Linked DNA regions of Homo sapiens: regions 2 and 3 are each linked to region 1. The links are contacts of gene promoters, found by promoter capture Hi-C in human tissues and cell types (Jung and others, 2019). All regions are on one chromosome and are shown on one strand. The core of a region is centred on a gene start or on the middle of the fragment in contact, and the rest is flanking DNA. Distances in the headings are between cores, read along the strand shown.

Region 1 (3,933 bases), core at 884-3,383:
TGTGGACTGTGAAATACAGAAGCTAAGGGCTCTAAAACGACAGGGAAATGGGGAAATGGTAATAATAGCAATAATGGTTACAACGGCAGTACCTGAGTCTCACTGGTCCAGCTAGGTGCCTGCCCCATGTTGAAGGCTTCACATCCTGTGTAAACACAGTGACTAGAAGTTCCTAGCTCCAAACACTTGAAACTGACACTTGACAGCTCTTACCTCAAAGACAGCATTTCATTTCTCTGAGCCTTGATTTCTGGATCAATACAATAACACTTCCCACCAGTAACAGTTGTTAAATTTAAAGTATTCAATGCTCAGTGTGCTCTGGGATTTTTATTAATCCTTTCACAGTCCCTGCAGTCAACACCATCATCACCTTCACAGTCAATGACTTCATGCTAAGGAAGCGCTATCAATTCACCCAGTCACACATCTCACCACCATAGATAGGATCTAAACATGGGGTTACTATGATTCACGGTCTAACAGTGTAACTCCAACACTCCCCCAACATCAAAGCAAATCTAATGCGATGAAGTTATAAGCATTTCCACTCATTTCTAACATTAAGTCTATTTCAATTAGCCCTGAAAAACGTATCTGTGGGCCGGGCATGGTGGCTCATGCATGTAATCCCAGCACTTTGGGAGGTCGAGGTGGGCGGATCGCTTGAGGCCAGGAGTTGAAGACCAGCCTGGCAAATATGGTGAAACCCAGTCTCTACTAAAATACAAAAATCAGTCAGGTGTGGTAGTGCATGCCTGTAATCCCAACTACTCGGCAGGCTGGGGCAGGAGAATTGCTTGAACCTGGGAGGCAGAGACTGCAGTGAGCTGAGAGTGCACCACTGTACTCCAGCCTGGGCGACAGAGTGAGACCCTGTCTCAAAACAAAAAAAAGTATGTGAACACGGGCACAAAAAGCTCAGCATTCCTCACTGACCCCACAGAGCGGCACTGGAAGGGCTGCATCTACTTGGGGAACGACAGGCTCCAGACCAGCTTCCCATGCCCTCTGGGATCTCCCTGGGTCTCCCAGATCCCCCAAGGAAATTCCACAATGAACCAACCATCGGCCTCTTTCCTTACTGGGTTCCGACAGAACTTGTCTCTGACGCCAGGATACTTTGGGGCCACGGAACACGAGCGGCCAAGGATAATGCAGGCTGTAGCGATGAGAGTAAGGGCATCTGACTGGCCACAATGTCTGCAGTAGTTGCGGATGGCTAGAACATCCAGGAAAAGACCACACACTGTTGCCCTCCACGTCTCAGCGGCCGCAGGAAAACCATGGCAACCTTACACACCCTCCTGAGCCTCCTTAAACATACAACATACCTTGTCTCTGCTCGCGCATTTGTCGGCTTGCTACTGCCCTGCCCTCCCCTTCCCCCCTCAGGCCCCCAATTCATGCTGGAATGAGACCTGGTCCACCAGAGAATGCTTGCAGGCCAAGGATGATGGGAGTCCCCAGAGGAAGCATCATTCACTCAACAACCTACGGAGCTCCTTCCAGTAGGCCCAACACTCCTTACGGCCAGGTATAAATTAAGTGGCAAACCAGCTCCACACACCAAAGCGAACGACGACTGCGAAGACAAATCCAGGGGATACCTGGGCTCCCACCCACTTCGGAAACCGCCTCAGCGCTGGCAAGGAAGCGGCAACCGCGAAGCCACCGTCCACTCACCTGGGCCCGGTCCGTCAGCACCGCTGCCGCCATCACGTCACCCCCTGGGCCGCAGAGCTGGGACAGAGGAGCCCCGGGCGGCCTGACGGACCCCACCTGTGCCCGACCCTGGCCGGTTGCCCGGGGCTTCCAGGCGCGCTCGGGGCCGCCGCCTCCTCGGTGGCAACGGCGTTCCAGACGCAGGGCCGCCGCCTCCTCGGTGGCAACCGCGTTCCAGACCCAGGGCGCCGCCCCTGGAGACCGCGGGGCTGAAGGGCGGGGGAGGAGAGACCGCAGCTTGACGGCGACCCAGGAACAAACCCACGGAAGGGGTCAGGCTCGTACAAAGGTGCGGCGGGGATTCCTATCCTACTCCCCTGCTCGGTCCTGACTAGGGACCTGCAAAGCGGCCCCGACCGGGGCCCTCAGTGGCTACAGACCTCTCCAGACAGAAGTGCAGAAGAAAATGGCGTCCGCAGCGAGCAACCCGGAAGTCCCGCCCCCACCGGCGTGAGCCGTCGGAAACGTCCCCGTCCTAGGCCGTCGTTGGCCCAGCTCCCGCCGTACGCATAATGCACAGCCTTCTAAGTAGTGTAGTTTTCCTCATGTGTTCAACAACGGGAGGAACGCTTCACGGCGCAAGTTTTCCTCCCAGGGAAAGGCACTCCAGGACCCGAGGAGACGCTCCAGACCCACCTCTTTACGGTGGGCACAACTCGAGGGGAAGGATGGAGGGAGGGAACCGAGGGGCAAGGGTTACATTGCATTCTTCTCTCGGGAAAATCGGAGCTCGGGAGACAGGGACTTTCCTTCAGGTCAGGGCACAGGCAAAGGCGCAGAACTGGGTCCTCAGCTCGCCTGGCGACTGACCCCCTTTCACATCCCTCCTCCCCGGATCATCATCTTGGAAGACACAAAAAAGCCGAATGATCATCTGGAAGCCCTGCCCCGACACGTTGTGTGCGCAAACTGCCCTCTTTTGAGCCTTCTTTGGACCAGCACAGCCTCTACGTGATGCAGGGAGTCATGTATTTGGCCCAGACCACACAAAAAGTGGATTTGCCCACTTCTGAGGTGGGGAGGCTGCAAGTGGAGGAGGTTCGGAGGCTCAGGATGGTTAGTTTGAAATGTCTACAGAACCACAAAGTATCTCTGTCACAGGCAATTCGACTTACGACTGAATGTTGGAAGAAGGTTTGAGCATGAATATATGAATTTAGGAGTTACCTTACACTGTTATTTCAAGTCATGATATTGAGTGAGACCATCAAGGCAATGCATGTAGATGGAGAAGAAAATACACAGAGCATGAGCCGGGGACCAAGTCTACATCATTAAATGGTTGATGACAATATTACCAGAAAGGCCAGGTCCTTGCATCTAGATCCTGCTGCTTGCTGCACAGAAGGCCAGTCAGCAAGACAATGAGTATTGTCAGGGATGAAGGCTTTATTCGGTGCTGCAGCTGAGGAAAATGGGAGATCAATCTCAAATCTCTTTCCTCAACTGACTAAAACTAGGGGTTTATACATCAGGGAAGAAGTGTAACTATGTTTGAGAAAACAGGAATTAGGAAGGGGTAAGGAAGAGGAATGGGTCAACAGGCAGCAGATGGTCAGTTAGGCAATCATCATGGGTAAGGGGTATAGCATCTCGTTTTTCCAGATGTGGTAATCCAGTAAGTTTCAGTTTCTTTATACTATCTGGGAGGCCTGATGCTTGGTTTCCTGAGAAAGGAAATCAGATAAGACAAATAAAAGTGTCTCGAGTTTTAGGAAGGGGAGGCTCAATGTCTATAATGTGTTGATTCAAAAGAAACCATAAATATCAGTTCTATGGGACACTGGAGCTGGTTTCAGTTCCCTGTTTCTATTTATCAATTCCTCAATCATGGGGAATCTGGACGTGATCTTTCTGGCTGCTTTATGCTGAGGAGGGGTATTGTGGGTGGCTGCATACCATAGATGACCACGTGGCCACTCAGATTAACTCAAAGGTTAATCTAACGCTATAGTTTTCTTTCTTTCTTTCTTTTTTTTTTTTGAGACAGAGTTTTGTTCTTTCACCTAGGCTGGAGTGCAGTGGCACGATCTCCGCTCACTGCAACCTCTGCCTCCTAGGTTCAAGCGATCCTCCTGCCTCAGCTTCCCGAGTAGCTGGGATTACAGGTGCCCACCACCATGCCTGGCTAATTTTTGTATTTTTAGTAGAGACGGGGTTTCACCATGTTGGCCAGGCTGGTCTCAAACTCCTGACCTCATGATCCGC
Region 2 (3,933 bases), core at 923-3,422, 470 kb before region 1:
TACAGGCACGTGCCACCATGCCTAGCTAATTTTTGCCTTTTTAGTAGGGACGGGGTTTCGCCATGTTGGCCAAGCTAGTCTTGAACTCCTGATCTCAGGTGATCTACCTGCCTCGGCCTCCCAAAGTGCTGGGATTACAGGCCTGAGCCACTGCACCCGGCAGGAAGTATATTACTTCTTGAGCCGTGAATATTTTTGGTGTGTATTATTATTTTCCTTAAACAAATTTAGTGCAGTATAATACAAATAGGATGATCCCCAATTTCCAGTGTATAATTTGATGAGTGCTGACAAATATAAACAGCATGTAACCACTACCACAATCCTGATAGAGAAGGTTCTCCTCACCCTATGTACTCTTCTGCCCTTTGCAGTCCGCCCCTTCCTCCTAGGCCCAGATCTGAGGATCACTCATTTGCATTTTGCCACTTGAGTTTTACCATTTCTAGATTTTTATCTGAAAGAAATTTTACTCTGTATAGACCTCTGAGTTTGGTTCCTTCACTTGTGCTTTTGAGATTCAGATTAATGTTTTTTTCCCTCCTTGACATTTATGAGGAATATTCTATTTATAAATGTAACACAGTTACCCATTCAGATGTGCATAGACATTTGTTTTTGTTTTCCAGTCTTTAGCTTTGAAGAAAATTGTTGATAACACGCAAAATCAGTTGGCTTTCTATATCCATGGGTTCTGCATCTATAGATTCAACCCACTGCAAATTGAATATTTGGAAGAAAAATTGCATCTGTACTGAACATGCACAGACCTTTTTTGGGTCATTACTCCCTAAACAATACAACTATTGTGTAGCAGCTATTTAAACAGCATTTACACTGTATTAGGTGACAATGTATAGCAACTATTTAAACAGCATTTGCATTGTATTAGGTATTATAAGTAATTTAAATTATAATTTAAATTATGTGGGAGGATATACACAGGTTATATGCAAATACCACATCATATTATATAAGAGACTAGAACATCTTCAGGTTTTGGTATCCTTGGGGGTCCTGGAATCAGTCCCCCATGGATACTGAGGAATGATTATACAAGTATTTCTATGGACACGTTTCCATCTCTTGAGGTTATACTTAGGAATGAGATTAATTTATCAAATGATAAGTGGACAACTAACTTTAATAACGGCTACAGTGTTTTCCAAATTTATTTATTTTGCATTTCCACCAGCAATGTATGAGAGCTCCAGTTTATTTCATACCTTCAACAGCTAGGTGTGATCATTCGGTTAATGTTACTCATCAAAATGAGTATGTAGTGGTATCTCATTGTGGTTTTCATTTGTAGTTCCTTAAATAGTAATAATTCTGAACTTATTTTCATGCATTTATATACCATTCATATATCATCTTTAGTGAAAAATGTGTTCAAATATTTTGCCTTTTTTTTTTTTTTGACATGGAGTCTAGCTCTGTTGCAGACAGACGGAGGGCAGACGGAGTTTCACTCTTGTTGCCCAGGCTGGAGTACAGTGGCGCGATCTCAGCTGACTGCAACCTCTGCCTCCCGGGTTCAAGCAATTCTCCTGCCTCAGCCTCTTGAGTAGCTGGGATTACAGGTGCCTGCCACCACTCCTGGACACTCCCGGATAATTTTTGTATTTTTACTAGAGACGAGGTTTCACCATGTTGGCCAGGCTGATGTTGAACTCCTGTCCTCAAGTGATCCGCCTTCCTCAGCCCCCCAAAGCGTTGGAATTACAGCTATGATATCTCACCCTGTTGCCCAGGCTGGAGTGCAGTGATTTGATCATAGCTCACTGAAGCTTCGACCTCCCTGGAATCAGTGATCCTTCCATCTCAGCCTCCCAAGTAGCTGGGGCCACAGGCACACACCACCATGCCCAGCTTATTAGCTAATTTTTGTAGAAACAGTGTTTTGCCATGTTGCCCAGGCTGGTCTTGAACTTTTGCCTATTTTTAAATTGTGTTGTTTATGCTATTTGTAGGGATGTTTTACGTATTCTGAATACTCATCATTTATTAGATAGAGGTTTCACAAATATTTTTCCCAGGCTGTAGTTGGCCCTTTCCTTTTTTTACAGGGGGTATATGGGTGAAGTCAACTTGCCAGTCCTGTTCTGGGAAATGGCCTCATGCCTGATGAGTGGAGAAAGGAGGTGGTTTAAGAGCCCCTTCAGGGGAAGTCTGACCACAAACTGGGCAGACTGGTTAAACATTCAAGGTTGGTTGTCATGGTGGTGGAGTGTGTGTAAGTTTTTAAAAACTGGGGTATGTGGTAATAACCAGCATGGAAGTGGTTGTGGATGTGGGAGGGAATAGAGAGTTCTTGAGATTTGGGCAGGATGAGTTTGTGTCAAGATAACATCAGCCTTCCCTTTGGGTAGCCCCAGTGTTAGTTTGACTTGTTCCTCCTGGGTGTATGAGGGATGTCTGCTGGGAAAATGGACAACAGTGATGGGATGTTGTGGGCCACCTGCCAGGCTGCTGAGTCTGCCATAATGTTTCCCTTGGTTATGGCATCTGTAGCTCTCTGGTGTCCATTGCAATGGATAATGGTGGCCTCTAATGGTAGTTTAGCTACCTCCAGCAACCTGTGTATCAGTTTGCCATTTACTATGCAGGTCCCTTTGGTACTAAGAAAAGCTCTTTCCTGTGAGATTAAGGCTTGGGAGTGTAGAATGTGGTATGCATACTTACAGTTAGTGTAAATATTGACCCTTTTTCCTATTGCTAGGGTGAGGGCCCTAGTTAGGTCGACTAATTCTGCCTGTTAGGAGGTGGTAGGGGATGCGACAGTATTGGACTCTAGGAGCTTGTGTTTGGCAACGATGGTGTAGCCTGCTGCAAGACATGGCTCTTTAAAGGAGCTCCCATCAATGAACCATGTAGGTGTCCCCTGTAAGGGGGTCTCTGATATGTGTCGGAAAGGGAAGGAAAGGGAATCTAAAAAGTCCAAGCAGGAGTGACAGAGTTCAGAGTCAAAGGTCCTTATAGGGAAGAGGGTGGCTGGGTTGAGAACTTTACATCTTTGGTAGGTGATTAGAAGGTTGTTTATGTAGGAGGTGTGTGTTTGTTGTAAGTAAGATAGCAGGAGGGAAAGAAGGGAGCAATGACTCATGAGTTCCTGTAGGTTATGAGAAGGTGCAATGGTAATGTATTGATAGAGGGTGAGTTTTTGAGCTTCTGAGGCCAGCAGCATAGACACACATAAGATCCTTAAACAGGGTGGCCAACCTTAGATGACTGAGTTCAGTTGTTTTGAGAGATATACAATGGCTTGTGGGGTACCGCTGAATGTTTGACAGAGTAGCCCAAGAACAAGGCCTTGGTTAGAATGAACATACAGAGTAAAGGGCTTGTTGGGGTTGGGTAGTCCCAGTGCTGGCGACATTGAAAGGGCATTTTTCAGTTTTTTGAACTGGGAGTCAATGGTACAGACTGGATCCAGGTGTTCTAGGATGGGCCCACGTGATGTGGTGTACAGCAGCTTGGTCAGCAAGTTGGGAATCCATAGCCAGAAGTATCCCACAAGGCTCAAGAAGGAAAGGAGGTTCTTTGTATGAGAAAGGGGCATATCCCGGATTAGCTTCTTCCATTGGGTTGGTATGGCCTGAATATTAGGGATTAGGATAAGTCCAAGGTAGGTAACCTGGGGTTGGGTTACTTGAGCCTTTGTGAGTGAGACCTAATATCCCCAAGAATGGAGAAAGTTTAGAAGCTGAATGATGTGTTGGATGGATAGATAGGTTAAGGGAGGGGCTACAGAGAAGGGTGTTATTGATGTATTGGAGGAGGGTGCTAGGAGCAAGGGGAAGTTTAGCCAGGTCCCTGGTGAGGGCCTGTCCAAATAAGCAGGGGCTATTCCAGCCCCCCTGTGGGAATATAGTCCATGTTAGCTGTGCGGATGTGTGAGTATCAGGATCTGTCCAGGTGAAAGCAAAAAGG
Region 3 (3,933 bases), core at 776-3,275, 310 kb before region 1:
CTCAAAAATAAATAAATAAATAATAATATGTAGTCTGGACTCAGGACCCTGACTGTATGACCATTTTGCAGGGAACTCAAATGGAAGGGGAGGGAGAATAGCCAGCAAGGAGTCCCAAGACACCATAATTCTGAAGACCATGTAGGTAGGAGTTGAGGAGGGTGAGGGCCTGAGACATCCTCCACTTACCTTCTCATGGTCTATAACTAACTCTGAAGTCACAAGAACCTATGGAAAATCAAGACCATGAGAACCAGACAGTGATGTTACCAAAGGATCATCCAAGCCCCCTCGTCTAGCCTGGAGTCAGGTGTGCCTGACTATCTGCAATCTGGGCTTTGGTTCTTAGTGATGCCTCTTACCTGTTGTGTGCCCTTGGAAAAATGCTCAACTTCCCTGTGCCTTGGTATTGCCATCTGCAACATGGCAATAATGGTATTCACTCAATAGGACTATTGTTTGTATCAAACTCATTCTTATGTGTCTAGGACTAAATATCAACTCTTACTGTACACATAATTAATGCTTCTGTCAACATTTTCAGTGCAAATAAACTGGTAGGTTTTCAAAATGTGGGTTTCTGCCTGGGTGCAGTGGCTCAAGCCTGTAATCCCAACACTTTGGGAGGCCGAGGTGGGCAGATCACAAGAGCAGAATTCTGTCTCAAAAAAAAAAAAAAAAGAAAGAAAAAGAAAGACAATGTGGGTTTCCTTTTGGCAATCTGGCTGCCTGCTATATACTCCCCTGAAGACCATCCTGCTGAGAGCCCTCCCTTCTACTGGAGCAGTTGATCATCCCACCTGTGCTGATAGCTAGGGAAACTTAGGCACCAAAGGTGCTGCTCCACCAGCCTGGCTGACCTTTCCTTTTCTCCATATGGACTGGACATGAGGAACTACTAAGCCTGGAGTGGCAAACCTATATACTACCCAACACTGCGGTCTCCATCCAGTCCTGGGTGTTCATACTCTATAACCCTCCATTCCTGCAGGCACCAGACAAAATCACTTCGGACCACGAAACTCCAGGCTGTAGAGGCTGCCCCATCCTACAGGCCCATCTCTCCCTTCCCTCACCTCAGGGACCATCTGAAAGAAAACTTTAAGATTCTCCCTCCTAAATACGAGCCCCAGGCCTTCCAGCTGCTCATGTGGACATGACACCTCCACTCTGGGACATCTCAGGATCACCATGCCCAAAACCTATTCCCTGCACAGCCTTACCCATCTCCATCCTTCCTGATATTCAGGAACAAACAAAAATACAAATAAAAATCCAGAATGGCTCTTCATTCCCTACTTTCTTTCACAGTCACATCTGATGCAACAGGAATTCCCGTCTGTTCAGTTTTTGAAATCCATCCAAGATCTGATCACTTCCCCTCCTCTGTGGCCCAGTCCCAGTAGACTCTCCACTAGTCTACTGAATTTACCTACTCACAGGTCTGTCTTCACCCGCCTCACCCCCACCCCAGTCTGTTTTGACTTGAAGGGCCTTTGGCAAACTTTGAGAAACAGATCTTGTCACTCTTCTGTCTCCAGCCCTCCGCGGCCACTGTGGCCCCCTCAGGATGAAAGCGCAGCTGCTCGGGCTGTCGCTCGACACGCGCCTCGTCCCTTCCCAAGCTGCCCACTACAGACACCAGGAGGCCTCAGGTTCGGGACTCGCTGAATGCGCCTCACATCTTTGCGAGCCGGGCCCCTTGCCCTCCATTGCCACCCCATCACACTGCGTGTCAGAAACGGGACGCCGCCCACGAACGCCCCACAGTTCTGCACCCGGGGACCTGAGCAGGCGGCCCTCACAGGGCTTTAGGATTCGGGGGAGGCCGGGAGGACGCGGCGCTCACCTGAGCGGGGTCCCTCAGCGTGGCCGCCGCCATCGGAGCCTGTGGCGGTGAGACAACGACCGAGGAAAGGGCCCGGGCCACCCTGGGCGCCGCCACCGAGCCTCAGACCCGCCTCTGAGCTGCGAGAACACAGCGCGTCCCCACCGCGCTTTCCGGAGCTGGTCGCCGCAGCGAACAACCAGCTTCCGGCAAGCTGAGTTCTCTTGAGGGCAGCGAAAGCAACCGCCGAGGGGAGACGCCGGAAGTCCCGCCCATTGCGCGTCGCACTCTCGGGTAGACCTCTTTTCATTGGCCAAGCATCGCGGCTCACGGCGCGGCGCCTTCTGGGCAGTGTAGTTCGCGTGGCTCCAAACTTCGAGGAAGTGGGCATAACTTCGGAGATGGAGATTGGAGACGGTAGATGATGGAGATGGAGATGGAGATGGAGATGATGGAGATGATGGAGATGGAGATGATGGAGATAGAGATGATGATGGAGATGGAGATGATGGAAATGGAGATGATGAAGATGGAGATGATGGAGAAGATGGAGATGATGGAGAAGATGGAGATGATGGAGAAGATGGAGATGGAGATGATGGAGTAGGAGATGGAGATGGAGATGATGGAGATGATGGAGATGGAGATGATGGAGATAGAGATGATGATGGAGATAGAGATGATGATGGAGATGGAGATGATGGAGATGGAGATGATGGAGATAGAGATGATGATGGACATGGAGATGATGGAGATGGAGATGATGATGAAGATGGAGATGATGGAGAAGATGGAGATGGAGATGATGGAGTAGGAGATGGAGGAGAAATGAGTGTCGAGAACTCTCGGACTCATCTGGAACCTGTTGTAATTGGAGATGGGCCTGGATTTCAGTTTCCTGCAGCTGATACTCCAATCTTTCCTTCTTTTGAAGGACTTGAAGAGGATCTTCAGGGCCACCATAAAGAGGTTTCACTGGGCAAAGCCACGTATACCTTCCTAAATTTCCTTTGGCAAGGGGACACCCAATATTAATGCCTGATGTATGATAATAAGAAAAGGCTCTGAATTCTGGATGTAGGTGATGAGAGAGTAGGGGAGCCCAAGGATTTACGTTCCTCTTTCACCCCATTCTCATTTGTGTTCTTTCCTTCCTCAAGGACCCAACATTGGTGTAAAGGCACAACAACAGGCAGCAAACCCATAAGCCAACTCCCCCTCAATTTCTCCCCTTCATCCATTTCTGCTCCATATTCCTGTCACAGTTACTATGGGACTGAACGAAGGGGAACGAATGCAGAAATGAAAACAAAGGCAAAATAAATCTGTTTTAAAGAAGGGGTCAGGGGGCTTCTTGCTTCTAGTGAGGAAGGGCCCTGAGCTTCCACAGACCTTCATATTTATTGGGTAGAAAGAGTAGGGAGGTGGTGGCTTACGCCTGTAATCCCAGCACTTTGGGAGGCCAAGGCGGGTGGATCACAAGGTCAGGAGATCGAGACTATCCTGGCTAACACGGTGAAACCCCGTCTGTACTAAAAAATACAAAAAATTAGCCGGGTGTGGTAGCAGGTGCCTGTAGTCCCAGCTACTCGGGAGGCTGAGACGGGAGAATGGCATGAACCCGGGAGGTGGAGCTTGCAGTGAGTGGAGTTCATGCCACTGCACTCCAGCCTGGGCGACAGGGAGAGAATCCGTCTCAAAAACAAAAAAAAAGAAAAGAAAATATCGCTCTGGTTTTGTAATGATAAAATAGAACCTACATATATTTTGTGTTATGCATTCTTGGCATACCTATTTCAATGAATTCTGGTTTTTTGAAATTGTCTCAAATATTCAAAAATTTTTTCCAGTATATTTATTGAAAAACATTCACATATAATTGGACCTGTGCATTTCAAACCTGTGTTATTTAAGGGTCAGCTGTACTGTCATGAAACCACCAACACAGTCATGATAGAGAAAATTACCATTGCCTGATAACGTTTTCCTGTACTCTTTCAGTCAGAACCTTCCCCCTCAGACCGCAGGCTCAATAACCAGTGATCTGCATTCTTTTACTCTAGTTTTGCAGCTTCTTCATTTCATATAAATGGAATCATACTGTA

What was found. Contacts are between HindIII fragments. The study calls those that stand out against the background at their distance.
Region 2: a contact is called between a fragment that was not itself captured here and the fragment with the promoter of ZNF264 in region 1, in 2 of the 25 tissues and cell types used here (heart left ventricle and pancreas).
Region 3: a contact is called between the fragment with the promoter of ZNF773 here and the fragment with the promoter of ZNF264 in region 1, in 1 of the 25 tissues and cell types used here (adrenal gland).

Annotation. Positions count from the first base shown.
Region 1 is chr19:57,189,700-57,193,632 of GRCh38, reverse strand. It overlaps ZNF264 (zinc finger protein 264), which reads right to left and starts at 2,133. Exons shown (of 4, transcript NM_003417.5): 1 at 1,687-2,133. The coding sequence starts at 1,719. RefSeq lists a silencer at 1,618-1,887 and enhancers at 2,058-2,117, 2,128-2,217, 2,238-2,297. The HindIII fragment of the contact is 13,408 bases long and covers 1-3,933 here.
Region 2 is chr19:57,654,781-57,658,713 of GRCh38, reverse strand. It overlaps a transcript of ZSCAN4 not described here. Among named protein-coding and RNA genes, the nearest start is that of ZSCAN4, 12 kb to the left of the region's middle. The HindIII fragment of the contact is 8,692 bases long and covers 1-3,933 here.
Region 3 is chr19:57,498,030-57,501,962 of GRCh38, reverse strand. It overlaps ZNF773 (zinc finger protein 773), which reads right to left and starts at 2,025. Exons shown (of 4, transcript NM_198542.3): 1 at 1,850-2,025. The coding sequence starts at 1,882. The HindIII fragment of the contact is 9,164 bases long and covers 1-3,933 here.